Regions from separate parts of the Homo sapiens genome. Here region 2 is linked to region 1. Evidence: promoter capture Hi-C in human tissues and cell types (Jung and others, 2019). All regions are on one chromosome and are shown on one strand. The core of a region is centred on a gene start or on the middle of the fragment in contact, and the rest is flanking DNA. Distances in the headings are between cores, read along the strand shown.

Region 1 (6,646 bases), core at 3,045-5,544:
GCCTGATCTTTCTGGTCTAAATTCTAAATAAACATAAGTGTACAGTACTTGACCTAGACCAAGTGCCGTGAGGAGCATTACAAAGACCAAGTTAAAGGAGGATGCCAACTGGCAGCTCTTAGCAGAGGACAATGATAATAAGGATAGGGAAGAAAAGAAGTAAAAGATGTTTGGATGTCCAAAAGAAGAGGCTACACAGGATGACATGATTATCAATGATACAATGTTACCAATGCCCAAGAACACCTAAATCACCTCATCCAGGCATTGTCAGAATGTAACTCAGTCAGAATGTAACTCGAACTTGAATAATGACTTTGTTTATATAAACGAAGTCTAATGATAGTCCAATAGCTACACAGAAGAGACAGGCCTTAATTTTAAGGGTGGGTGGGGATAGAGGGGGAATGGGAAAAAGCCATCCATGAAGGCTTCAAAAGATTTTGCCAACCAAGCAGGACAGCACAGTTCAGAGACACCCAGCAACAATTGTGAATCCGTAAGCCAAGGTTGGTTTGTTTGTTACAAGCCTACTGATTTAAAAGAAAAAAATCTTATAAAAATAAGGAGTTAAGGACATCTAGATATTGAAAGTTACTTAAAATGCAATTCAAGTGAAACACAAAACATTTGTGAAATGTATGACATTTTACTGCTGCTTAGAAATATTTATCAAGGCAGAACCATTTTTATAAATACATAATTCTGTTTAATAACAGAAGTCCTGTAAGACCAGAGAAATGAATTTGCTGTCACTCATGAAAACACAAGTCTTCTGACATACATATTTAAAAAAGAAAGAAAAAGAAAAACTAATACTCCAATTGGACACTCTGGGAAGCAAAAGATTTCAGACTATAAATCTTAACTGTTACGGTTTGCTTAATTTTGATTTTAAGAATCTCCACTTTTAGCATGTATTAAAGAGGCAGAAAGGACAGGACAAAGAATCAGAGGTTCTGGGTTTCAACTCTAGTTTTATCAGAATTTGGATTTCTTCTTCCTTAAAATTGGGCAATTGAAGTAGGCTACTGAAAAGTATCCAAGTTTAGCACTCATGCTCTAGTTTGAAAATAATTCTTTCTAAAAGAGCTAATAAAAAAATTGCAAGGCGCGGCAGGGCACGGTGGCTCACGCCTGCAATCCCAGCACTTCGGGAGGCCGAGGCAGGTGGAGCAAGAGTCAAGAGATCGAAATCATTTTGGCCAACACGGTGAAACCTCGTCTCTACTAAAAATACAAAAATTAGCTGGGCATAGTGGCACGTGCCTGTAGTCCCAACTACTTGAGAGGCTGAGGCAGGAGAATCACTTGAACCCGGGAGGCGAAGGTTGCAGTGAGCTGAGATCGCGCCACTGCACTCCAGCCTGGCGACAGAGCTAGACTCGGTAATAAATTAAAAAAAAAAAAAAAAAAAAAAAAAAAGTCTGCAAGGCGCGGCCAGGCGCAGTGGCTCACACCTGTAATCCCAGAAATTTGGGAGGCCGAGGCGGGTGATCACCTGAGGTCAGGAGTCTGAGACCAGCCTGGCCAATATGGTGAAACCCCGACTCTACTAAAAATACAAAAATTAGCTGGGCGAGGTAGTGGGCGCCTATAATCTCAGCTGCTCGGGAGGCTGAGGCAGGAAAATCACCTGAACCTGGTAGGCGGAGGTTGCAGTGAGCCGAGATCGCGCCATTGCAATCAAGCCTGGGCGACAAGAGCTAAACTCCATCTCAAAAAACAAATAAACAAAAAATTGCAACACGAGTTAAGCACTTTTATTTTTAATGAAGCATGAAAAAATTACTCTAAGTTATCTTACTAAATTAAAATACCAAAACATATGTGGCATACTAAGGACCACGTATGTTGGTGATTGCAAAAAGTAATATACCTTCCAGGAGTTAACTGTTCACTCTAGAACAGATTTCCTTTTTTTTGTTGTTGGGGGGGACGGAGTCTCGCTCTGTCCCCCAGGCTGGAGTGCAGTGGCACGATCTCTGCTCACTGCAACCTCTTTCTCCCGGGTTCAAGCAATTCTTCTGCCTCAGCCTCCCGAGTAGCTGGTATTACAGGCGCGCACCACCAGGCCCGGCTAATTTTTGTATTTTTAGTGGAGACGGAGTTTCACCATACTGGCCAGGCTGGTCTCGAACTCCTGACCTCATGATCCGCCCACCTCGGCCTTCCAAAGTGCTGGGATTACAGGCGTGACCCACCGTGCCCGGCCTAGAACAGATTTGACTCAAGTTCTAAAATAATAGGATCAAAGTAATTACACACAATACTGGTACTTTTAAGGCCATCTTTCTTTGGATCAAGACCCACAAAATAGCAAAAATATCCAAAGTTGTGCTTATTAGGGTTCAATGTAATTAACTATTGTATATAATATGATTTTATTTTAATTTTCCTTCCCATGGAAAACTGAGTCGTTAGAAACAAATTAAAAAAAAAAGTTCTCACATACAAAAAAAAAAGTTCTCACAGCTCTAAACCTTAGGGATAAATGCTGGGTTTTGATTATAAACATATTTATATATATGCACACACAAATATATATGTGTATGTGCGTGTATATATATCTATTACATATTTGTGTGTGTACACACACAGTTAAGTTCATCCCGATGCTACGGCCATATGCATTTTCTACTGAAAATGTAAGACTTTCAAGTAACTATACATCAAAGAGAAATGTGATTAAATAAGAGCAAAGTAGTATTAACAGGGTAACATAATGAGGTCAGAACTCAACCAGCCAATCGAAGGCATAAAAGCATTTCCTGCAATATTAATAGTCAAAAGAGAAAACCAATCACTGAAACCTCGAGCTTCCTTTTGACAGTCACTGAAGCAAGAGAACCAATCCACACACACCCGAGGTTGACAATAAGGCGGGACTGTAGGTTCATTGAAGAAATTCTTGAGGGTGCAGTTACTATGAACTTCGCACGCAAGTAACACCACTCGAGTCATAAACACTCTCTGTCAAGCCAGATGAAATCCAACCGTCTGCAAAATTTAACCCATCGGAGGAAAAGCAGCAATTTTCCCAAAAGGTGCTGTATTATCAAAATTACAACTGCCAATTTAGATGCACTAGGTCCTCAACTTCTAAGGACCACCTCGCAATGACAATTCTCGAGGACAACGCAACGCCGGCGGCTCGCTTCCGGGCATCCCCGGCTCCTCTCTAACGTTGCGCACGGAGCACGGCCGTCCAGGCGGAGCAGGCAGAGCCCGTCCGCCCCGCGCCCGGCTCGGGTCGGCAGAACTGGCCGGCGGGCGGCCCTCGGACGCTACGACCCGCTCGGTAGTCGTGGCCCCCGCCCTCCCCCGCCGCAGTGCTGCACCGCCTCATCCCGCTGCACCTTCGCGGGCGGGGGAGCCAGGATGATTACATTGCTGGGAGGAAGATGTTTGTTTTGAAAGCACCCTTCCACAGTCATTTCAAAGAGAACTCAATACAAAGCCAAAGTTAAAAGTGGAAAAAATAATAATCTTGCCTAGCCAAATAATACCACGCCATTAATTAGCCCCGCGCCTGAGAGAGGGAGGTGGAAAGGTAAACAGAGACCGTACGCCAAGAGCGGCCAGCGCATCCCCTGCGCCATTCCCGGCCGCCGCTTACGGCAAGGCCCCCTTACGGCAGCGTAAGCAGCGCTGCGAGCTAATCACAACACTGGGACGCAACAACATGGCGGCCGCGGGCGGGCGCTACGCCGGCCGAGAGGGTTTACGCTACTCCGCCGGCGTAGAGTCCCGTGCGTTAGAGCGGCAGCGGCGCCCTCCAGCGAGCGTAAAGCGCTCTGTGAATGGCGAGGCCCGACTGACAAAGGGGAGGGGGGAGGAGGGAAGGGGGGGTAATAAACACTCGAGTCCCTACCGATTCCTCCTCCTTCTCCATCCCGGTGGGCATCTGGGGCACGGCCCGGTTGATGGAGACGCAGTCGTTGAGATCAGGCATGTCCTTGCCGCGGTAGATAGGCAGCGGCTTGGCGGCGTCCAGCGCCCGCGCTCGGAAGGAGAGTTTACTCATTGTCTCCCCGCCTTACAGGAACAGCCCGGGCGGCGGCGGCGGGGCGGGCGGGGAGGGGGGGAGGACTCCCGCCGCCTCCTCCACCTCCTTCCTCAGTGCAGCGCGGCCGGCCCGCTCCTCCTCCTCCTCACTGCCCCCGGCCACAGCATGGGCGCCCACCCCGCCCGAAAACAGCCCCCCGCGCCCGCGGCCGCCTCCACACACTAGATCCGCCGCTCGCCCGCCCGATCCGCTCCCTGCGCCATGGCCAACATGGCGGACATTACCACAGCGGCGGCGAGCGATCCCGGCAGCCCGCGCGAGAGCGCGCCCCCGTCGCGGGAACGCGCCTCGCCCTCTCCCTCCCTCCCTCCTTCCTCTCCCTTCCCCTCCCTCGCCTGCCCACCCACTCTCTCCGCGGCGCTGCCGGCCCGCGGGAGCGTGCTCGGTCTCGGTCCGCTCCGGGGAGAGGGGGCGGGGGCGGCGCCCCTCCGCTCGCTGGCCGGTGCTTTCGCTGTGTGGCAGGTGCCAGGTGCGCAAGTTCGCCCGCGCCCGGGAGCGTGCGCCTCTCCCGCCGCCGCCCGGTCACCCCTCTCGCTGGGTGTCCCGGAGGAAGGCGCCGGGCAAAGACGGCTGCGCCGAGCAGCGCGTGTGTGCAGAAGTCCGGGAGCGGGAAGGGAAAATGTCGACCCGGACCCCACCAGCCATCACCCAAGCCTGTACTTGGACAGCGCTATCCCCAAGGCGCCCTGTGCGCAAGCTAATTCGCATCCTCCGAGGCGCACATCCCCGAGAGGTGCAAGAGGTCTCTCCCATCAGTCCCATCAGTCCGTTCGGAGGACTGGACCGCGCTGCTGGTGCCAGCCCTCTTCTACGCCCTCCCCTCCGTACCTGTCCGAAAGAGCTCTCCAAGGTGCAGCAGCGCGTTCATCCTCGCTTTGCAGTGAGGGTTCATGGTTTGAGGCTGCCAGATGCAACAAGTGAACTTAGGTTCCCTGTCACCCAAACTTCGGTACAGCTGTTTAGTGGATGGTAGGTATTTTTCTGAGTTCAAAAATAGTAGCTTTCCTAAAAGTTCAGCTTCTAAAAATTTAGCCAAGGCAGCACACATTTGCGAAGTAGCAGATGTGTGTCAAATGTGGGGTGCTGTGGAAGACTCGAAGAAATCTGAGAAAAGGTTCCTGCCTCAGAGAGCTTTCACCTTAATGGGATGCCAGGATGGCTGGAAAGATGAGTAACAGAGACGTAAATAGTTGAAGAAAATGACAGCTGGAAAGATAAGTGACAACCGAAAAAAAAGTGTAAATATTTTAAGAAAACAATACAAGAGATGACACAGGCAGTAAGTAGCACATGATTAATTACCAAACGAGATCTAGGCAATAATTGTGAGAGTTCAGAGAAAGGAAAGGAGGCATGACTGCAGCCTAAACTGGTTAGAGAAAGTTCTCAAGAGGAGGGAAAATCAAGGTGACTCAAATAAGTACTAGCTATTGTTGACATCAACCTGGTTTAGCCAAGAGGCTCTTGGTTAGTCTTTAAGCATTACACATTTCTCACAAAACCGTACAAAGAGAGTTTTTAACACATTTTACCATTTTCTAATAATCGATCATACTCTAACTCAGAGAAAGTCAGATGATTTCCTAAAGACCAACAGTGAAAAAATTGATTCCTACTGTCATTTCTATGTGACAATAAAACTATATCTCTTCCTCTATTACGTCCTTCTTCCCCTCCTCCACTTCCTCCCCTCCCCCTTTTTCCTCCTGTTCCTCTTCCCCTTTTCTCTCTGCAGTCTCCTCCTTTGAAGGCAGAATGGTGGATATAGTCTTCATGGTAGTGTCCAAATAGTCTAACCAGTCTGTCGCAGCAAAACTCCGAGTATTGTTTAGTGGGGCTTGAGTGTTTTTCATCCACTTTGTTGTTGGAAGCAATGGAGTTGCTGTGACTCATTTCTTGTAAGCAGTACCTTCCTCAAGCTTATGGGCATGTCCTGCTCTCTAAGTGCTACCCCTGGAACAGTTCCAATCCTCTGGAAGCAAGAACAAGAAGTTCTTGGGAGGGGGTCAGCACTGGGTTCAAGCCTGAAAGGGAAGAAAAAAGCAATAGTTGAAGAAATGAGTCATCCAGAGCTTTCATCTGGATGCCCAGCCCTCCTCAGGTTCAGAAAGGATAGCTTTCTTCTAGTCCCTATGTTTAGTTTTACTGTTTCTCTCAGAAAAGGAAATATCAAGTATGTGTAATATACCATCCATTGTAGTAACATGTTATATATATTATCTCAACTAGTTGAATTCCACTTAATTCTTATTATAATTTTATGAAAAAATATAATTTTACCAATAAGAAAACTGAGCATCAGATAATTTGCCAAATTTCAATTCCAACAACTTGCAGAACTGGGCTCAAATTCAGGTCTGACCTGACTCCAAAACTCTGGTTTTCTCAGTGGTGCTACCCTGCTATCCAAGCTCTTCAGCTTATTGACCAGTCAGCATTCTAAAGCTGCTAATTCAAAATTAGTTACTAAGACCTTCCAACCAACGGCCAAGGGAGCGCATAAGCCAGAGCCTAAAGTTGCAGTAGACCAAGGAGGGCAGGAACAACATCTGTCTGTCAATCACTGTATCCCCAGTT
Region 2 (6,160 bases), core at 2,415-4,914, 260 kb before region 1:
GCAGGATCCAGAGTTAGAGACTGGGGTGAGAGAGGGCTAATATATTTGACTGACTCTTGTATGCTAGACCCTATGTTTTACCTGGGGCATAACATAGATTGCTGACAACTATTCTTTAATGTAATTGCCACTCTTCATTTTACAAGTGACAAGGTCAGGTTCAGAGATGTCCATGGCTTGCACAGGGTCACAAAGCACGTATTACATTGGCTTCACATGGTAGTTGTGAGAACAAATAATAAAAGGCATATAAAATTACTTTACAAATTGCAAATTACAAATTGCACATATGTTATTAACATTATAACTTATCTTACCCTTTTATAGATTTTTAGTTATTTAAGGACATGTTTTCTATCTTACCCATCTTTGGATTCCCTGCAGCATTTATGATAAGTATTAAAAGTGCTTACATTAATAGCTGTTTAATTAAATTGGATTTTTCATGTCACATTTTGAATTAATAGAATTTTTAAAATTTTACTCCAAAATTAAAGCTGCCACTTATTGAACAGGTCCAAGTGCCAGGCAGAGACTACCATGAATCTCCACAGCAGTGCTCCAAGGTTAGCATTATAATATCCATTTTACAGATGGAGAAATCAGAGTTCAGAGACAACACATAATAGTCGCACAGCGATAAGTAGGAGAGGCAGGAGGGTCTGATTTCAGAGCTCATGATTTCCCACCATTAAAGACTCTCGATCACAGATATCCAATTCACCTAGAACCACCAAAATCTAAAATTTCTGCAACTGAGGTGATTCCCATCTCTTGTGAGCAGAGAAACGTTATTTTCCTTCTTATAGCCATAGTGCTGAGAGCTCTCTTTCAGACTCTGCTCAGCATTAATTACCACATCCTCATGAACACTGGCATAATCAGCCCTCTGCCCCACACAACTAAACATCTTTCTTACAGTTTTACAAATTTAGGGTTTCTCGTCTTACTGCTTTATTCAACAGATATTGACTGAGAATCCTCCATGTGCCAAGTACTGTTCAAAAACACTGGGAACCCAGCAGGGATGAGCCACAAGTTTCCTTGTCTTTACGAAGCTTTCATTCTGAGGGAGTGGAGAGAGACAAGCAATAAACAACCAATCAAAACAAAGATGACTCCTCTGAGTGTTGTGATATGCGGGTCAAGGAGGATGGCTCCCAGGATGTGACCTCAGAGCAGAAGCCTGGAGGCTTGCCAGCAGCGGGAAGAGCAGCGGCAGGGCACTGCAGGCAGAGGTGACCAAAAGCGTGAAACCTTGAGCTGGGAAGCACGTGGTCTGCTGGAAAGTGGGCTGATGTATTTGAAGAGAGCAAGGAGCAGAATGGTACAATGGGGTGATGGGGGAAGAGCCAGGCAGAGCCCAGTGCTGCAAAGCCCGGTAGCACATACATGTGTAACGTACCTTGAAGCAAATGAATGGCCTGATCTGGTTTCTGTTTTGGCTGCTCTGTGGTGATGTGGTGCCTGGGAGGCAAAGAAGCTGGGAAAGAAGCGGTTTTTCTCTTCTAGGTACTTTAAAGCTCTATAATATATGCTCAGGTGAAATTTGGCTGGTATTTTCAGGGACTTCACTGCTTTTGTGCCATACTGGCCTCATCATGTAGATAACATCACGGATTCATTCCATCTTATTATTCTGTAAGAGTGATGTCTAATTTTTTTAAAAAAGAATCAGCTTTAAAAAATGCAAAGTCTCATAGAAAGTAACTCTTTTCTATTTTAAGCAAGCATTCAGAATATTAGCAGTGCTAATCAGTACCTCACTAAACAGTTATGACTGATTCTAAGTGCAAAGTGGGGAATGAGAGTAACAGAGAGTATTTACTGGCTGCTAAAAGCAGGTACAATGGGGAGCATGCTAGAGAAACTGTCTCACTGAATCCTCGGATGACCCCATGGTGTAGGTAATACTGGAGAAACTGAGGCTGCAGTGGCCACATGACTTGCACAAGGCCACCCAGTAAGAATGGGATAGAACAAGAGCCCATGTCCATAACCCCTCTCCTACTACGCTAAGGTCAGGGTGGCCCTTTAAGGTGACCAAAGGGTTAGAAATAACAAACAAGAGTGGATGAACCTAGGTTTATTTTGTCTGGAGGAGAGAAATCTTTGAGAGTGATTAATTAAAGCATATTCAGGATATTTTTTAAATAAACGGAGAGAGCTGTTCTCCATCATCCCTAATGGTAGAAGAAAAGGCCTTCACCCTCAGCCTGGCAGGTGAAGACAGAGATAAAGAATGTGCAGACTGTGGGATCTTGCTGGGAGGGAGGCAGGACTCACCTACCTAGTCTGTCTCTGATGCATTTCTTTGGAAAATGCATGTTGACAGTGCTTCTAAAAGTAATCATATGAGCTGCCTGAAAAGGTCAACTTTCAACTCTGGTAAAGATTGGGATGCCTTTTCCAGATTAATTCCACATTGGTGTTTGTGGGCAATGCTGAAACAAAAGAAAATCCAGGCTAGCCAAAACTTTTCACATAAATAGTGACAAAAGCAACCGAGTGGCTGGACAGATTTGAGACAGGAACAGCCCGAGGACTACAGCAGGGGCTCCCAGTCTGGAGACTCTAACATAGATCTCCAGATGACCCCAATGACTGGGAATTGCTTTTACTCTGGACAGCCTGCTGGGCGGCCCCAGTTGACTGTCCCGGGTATGTCCCGGGTCGCTAACCACTTTGACTGCCCCTGAGCCACAGAGTCAGGCAGGAGTCAGGGACACGTAGGTACTCTCTTCTCCCTGCCCCTCACCTTCCTTCAGGGCCACCTCGGCCACAAAGGCTGGCTCCACATCAGTCAGCTACTCAGACATGCTCTCGCCTCACCTCCTCCTTCCCACTCTTCCCCTGATGCCCACAGGCTGGATTTCAGGTCAGGAAGCACTAGGCTTGGAGCCATATGCTGAAAATGACTTCCCTTTTCTTCCTAGATTAGATTTGCTGCAAATGGCTCTGCTCCCACAAGCTCCATGATCCAATATACCCAGGAATAAAATCTAAGGGACATATGGTTACAGGGAGCAAGATCAGAAGAGACTTCAGCCTCCTGGGTTAATGCACAAAGCTTGCAGCTGGTCATGCAGTGTGCTGGGCCCTTTCCATGGCCATAAATCCACACCTGGGTGCATTAATGCCACTGCGTCTGGAGCCCATGTGCTTCACAATGGAGAGTTGAAGTAACTGCAGGCTGTCCTTCACAGGCCATATCCTCAAGGAGGCGGTCCTTGTGACACAGGTGGAGGTGACGTCACTTCCCCCCACATGGCCAGTCAGCCACTGTCAGGGGACTGCTCTCTCTCAGTGTTTTCTTAATTAAAGAAGCTTCACAGGACAGCAGCAAAGAGGGACCAAAACAGGTAGCATTGGACCAATCCCTTGGATTGGGTCTGAAAAGCAGCTGCCACCTTCATTGTCCTTCTCAGTTTTTTCTTTTTCTTTCTTTTCTGTTTTTAGAGACAGGATTCTTGCTCTGTTGCCCAGGATGGAGTGCAGTTGAATGATCATAGTTCACTGTAGTCTCAAACTTCTGGACTCAAGTGATCCTTCCACCTCAGCATCCTGAGTAGCTAGGACTACAAAACACATGCCACCACACCCAGCTAATTCTTTTAATTTTAATTTAATTAATTAATTTATCTATTTATTTTGAGGCAGGGTCTTGCTCTGTCGCCCAGGCTGGAGTGCAGTGGTATGATCTCAGCTCACTATAGCCTCAACCCCCTGGGCTCAAGCAATCCTCCCACCTCAGCCCCACTGAGGAGCTGGGACTACAGGCATGCACCACCACACCCAGGTAATTTTTGTATTTTTTGTAGACACAGGGTTTCACCACATTGCCCAGGCTGGTCTCGAACCCCTGAGCTCAAGCGATCCTCCCACCTCAGCCTCCCAAAGTGCTGGAATTACAGACATGCACCAGCATGCCTGACTTCATTATTTTTATTTTATTTTATTTTTAGAGATGGGGTTCTCACTATGTTGCCCAGGCTGGTCTCAAAGTCCTGGGCTCAAGCAATACTCCCACCTTAGCTGCGATTACAGGCATGAGCTACTGTGTCCTCCTGCTCAGTTTTCTAGCACTGTCAGGCCCTGAGCTCCAAGCCTTTCCTCCAGTAAAGCACATCAGTTACTTAGATGCCAACTGTGGCATCTCCCTCCCATGGGACTTCCTTATGATCAATGAGTCAGTATTTCCTGAGATTCCTCAGTCTCCACTTTCACAGCCTGGTTCCCTCCAGGCACTCATACTTGCGCCTCACCCTCTTTTTCTGCTGAATTATTTAGACATCACGAATTGGCTAAAATGTACTTGCTGAATTTACTGGCAAGAGAAGACGCAGCTTCCCTTCCCTTTCCTCTGCCTCCCCTTTTTCCCTCTGGCCCCAAGGGAGTCTCACTCTCTCTCCCCTCCCTCCTAGGTAAACCCATCTGATATGGTTTGGCTGTGTCCCCACCCAAATTTCATCTTGAATTGTAGCTCCGATAATTCCCACATGTCATGGGGGTACCCTGTGGGAGGTAATTGAATCATGGGGTGGGTCTTTCCTGTGCTGTTCTCATGACAGTGAATAAGTCTCACAAGATCTGATGGGTTTACAGAGAGGAGTTTCCCTGCACAAGCTCTCTTTTTTGGCCTGCCATCGTGTAAGACATGCCTTTCACCTTCCACCATGATTGCGAGGCCTCCCCAGCCATGCAGAACTGTAAGTCCATTAAACCTCTTTTTCTTTATAAATTACCCAGTCTCGGGCATGTCTTTTTCAGCAGTGTGAAAGTGGACTAATATACCATCCTCCCACTCCTTGACCCTGGCTCCATCTCTCCCTTCTCGTAGGCTTCCTCCATTAGCTAAAAGCATGACTACATGTGTGCTATCCTTAAAAGCAAAAAACCTGCCATCGACCTTGCTTCTACCTCAACTCACTGTGCTATCACCACACACTAAGCTTTTTGGAAATAAGTAGCACACACTCCCAGCATCCTTCCTCTCACTTCTCATTATGCCAGTCTTTTTGCTAAATGGGAAGCAGCAAAGGCACCCACAGCTGTCCCCTTAGCAAACCAATGCCTCTCCTTTGCCATCCCTTTATCACCCTCTCCAAGCATCTGCCCCTCCCACTTCTGCAATGATTTCTCCCCTTCTTTAATTTCTCCAACTTCTTTAATTTCTCTTTTTAAATATTGGCCTTCCCTAGCATTAAGTTTTTGTGCTTTTTTTCCTCTCTAAACCAATGTGTCCTAACTCAGGGATTTGGGTGGCACCATCACAATTTTTGTCATAACCATGTACCATCCACTCTACCTTTAATTTAATATTTTTTTAATTAACTTATTTTTCCTTAAATATACTTTCAATGAAACTTTTATATTACTGTTGTAAGTGAAAAATCAGTATTACATGCTATAAACAGAAGGCAATAAAAAGAGATACAATGAAAACAAAGCAATACTAATGAGCTCTAGCTAGAAACATTGCATGTCAAGGACTCCAAGCCTAGGACCTGTTCTTTCCTTTTATTAAGAGGGAAATTCCAAAGTATTAGAGATTAAACACTAGCACCAAACTGAAGCTTTGTCTTTGGTAGATTCAGAAGGGCTGAAAGAGGAATAAAATGAAAATAACTTTCCACTACCTGATTCAATGTTATCTAAGCCCATGTCTGCTGTGTACTGCCTAAAATTATCAACTACAAAGATAATTTTCCTACTAAATACTAGAGTTAGTTCTCCTTCCTCTGTGACTCTCTTCAGAGGACTTAACAATTGTAACTTTTTCAATGGTTGCCGTATTTCTTAGCTCCATTCCACATGCTTTTAGAAAATGAGATTACAGACATAAACTAGAAACAAGATAGACAACAAACACCCTAAATGTCAAAACTAGTACCAAACAGCAGCAATCCATCCAAGCTGGAGCCCAGATCTACCCCAGATGGCTCTATCCATCAGGGTTGGATCCTGGAACATGTCAGAGACTGCCCACCATCAACGCCTAATCCATAATAATAAATAATATGATAGCCAACATCTGAAAGGTTTACATGCCAAACGCAGCACGACACTCCTCATATATGTGCTGTTCAATCTTCACAATACACTCGTGAGATCGATGCTGTTATTATTCCCAGTACGAGGAACCATTAGAGAAGTTAAG

Evidence for each region. The method cuts DNA at HindIII sites, captures the fragments that hold promoters and counts their contacts. A contact is called where the count stands out against the background at its distance.
Region 2: a contact is called between a fragment that was not itself captured here and the fragment with the promoter of EPC2 in region 1, in 1 of the 25 tissues and cell types used here (dorsolateral prefrontal cortex).

What each region holds. Positions count from the first base shown.
Region 1 is chr2:148,642,399-148,649,044 of GRCh38, reverse strand. EPC2 (enhancer of polycomb 2) reads right to left here and starts at 4,294. Exons shown (of 14, transcript NM_015630.4): 1 at 3,875-4,294. The coding sequence starts at 4,027. RefSeq lists enhancers at 2,971-3,120, 3,717-4,221 and silencers at 3,211-3,300, 4,061-4,640. The HindIII fragment of the contact is 15,800 bases long and covers 1-6,646 here.
Region 2 is chr2:148,904,359-148,910,518 of GRCh38, reverse strand. The region is part of intron 1 of KIF5C (kinesin family member 5C); the gene reads right to left. It overlaps LOC101928553 (a long non-coding RNA gene), which reads left to right. Exons shown (of 2, transcript NR_187659.1): 2 at 966-1,113. Among named protein-coding and RNA genes, the nearest start is that of KIF5C-AS1, 12 kb to the right of the region's middle. RefSeq lists a silencer at 1,045-1,339. The HindIII fragment of the contact is 3,200 bases long and covers 2,065-5,264 here.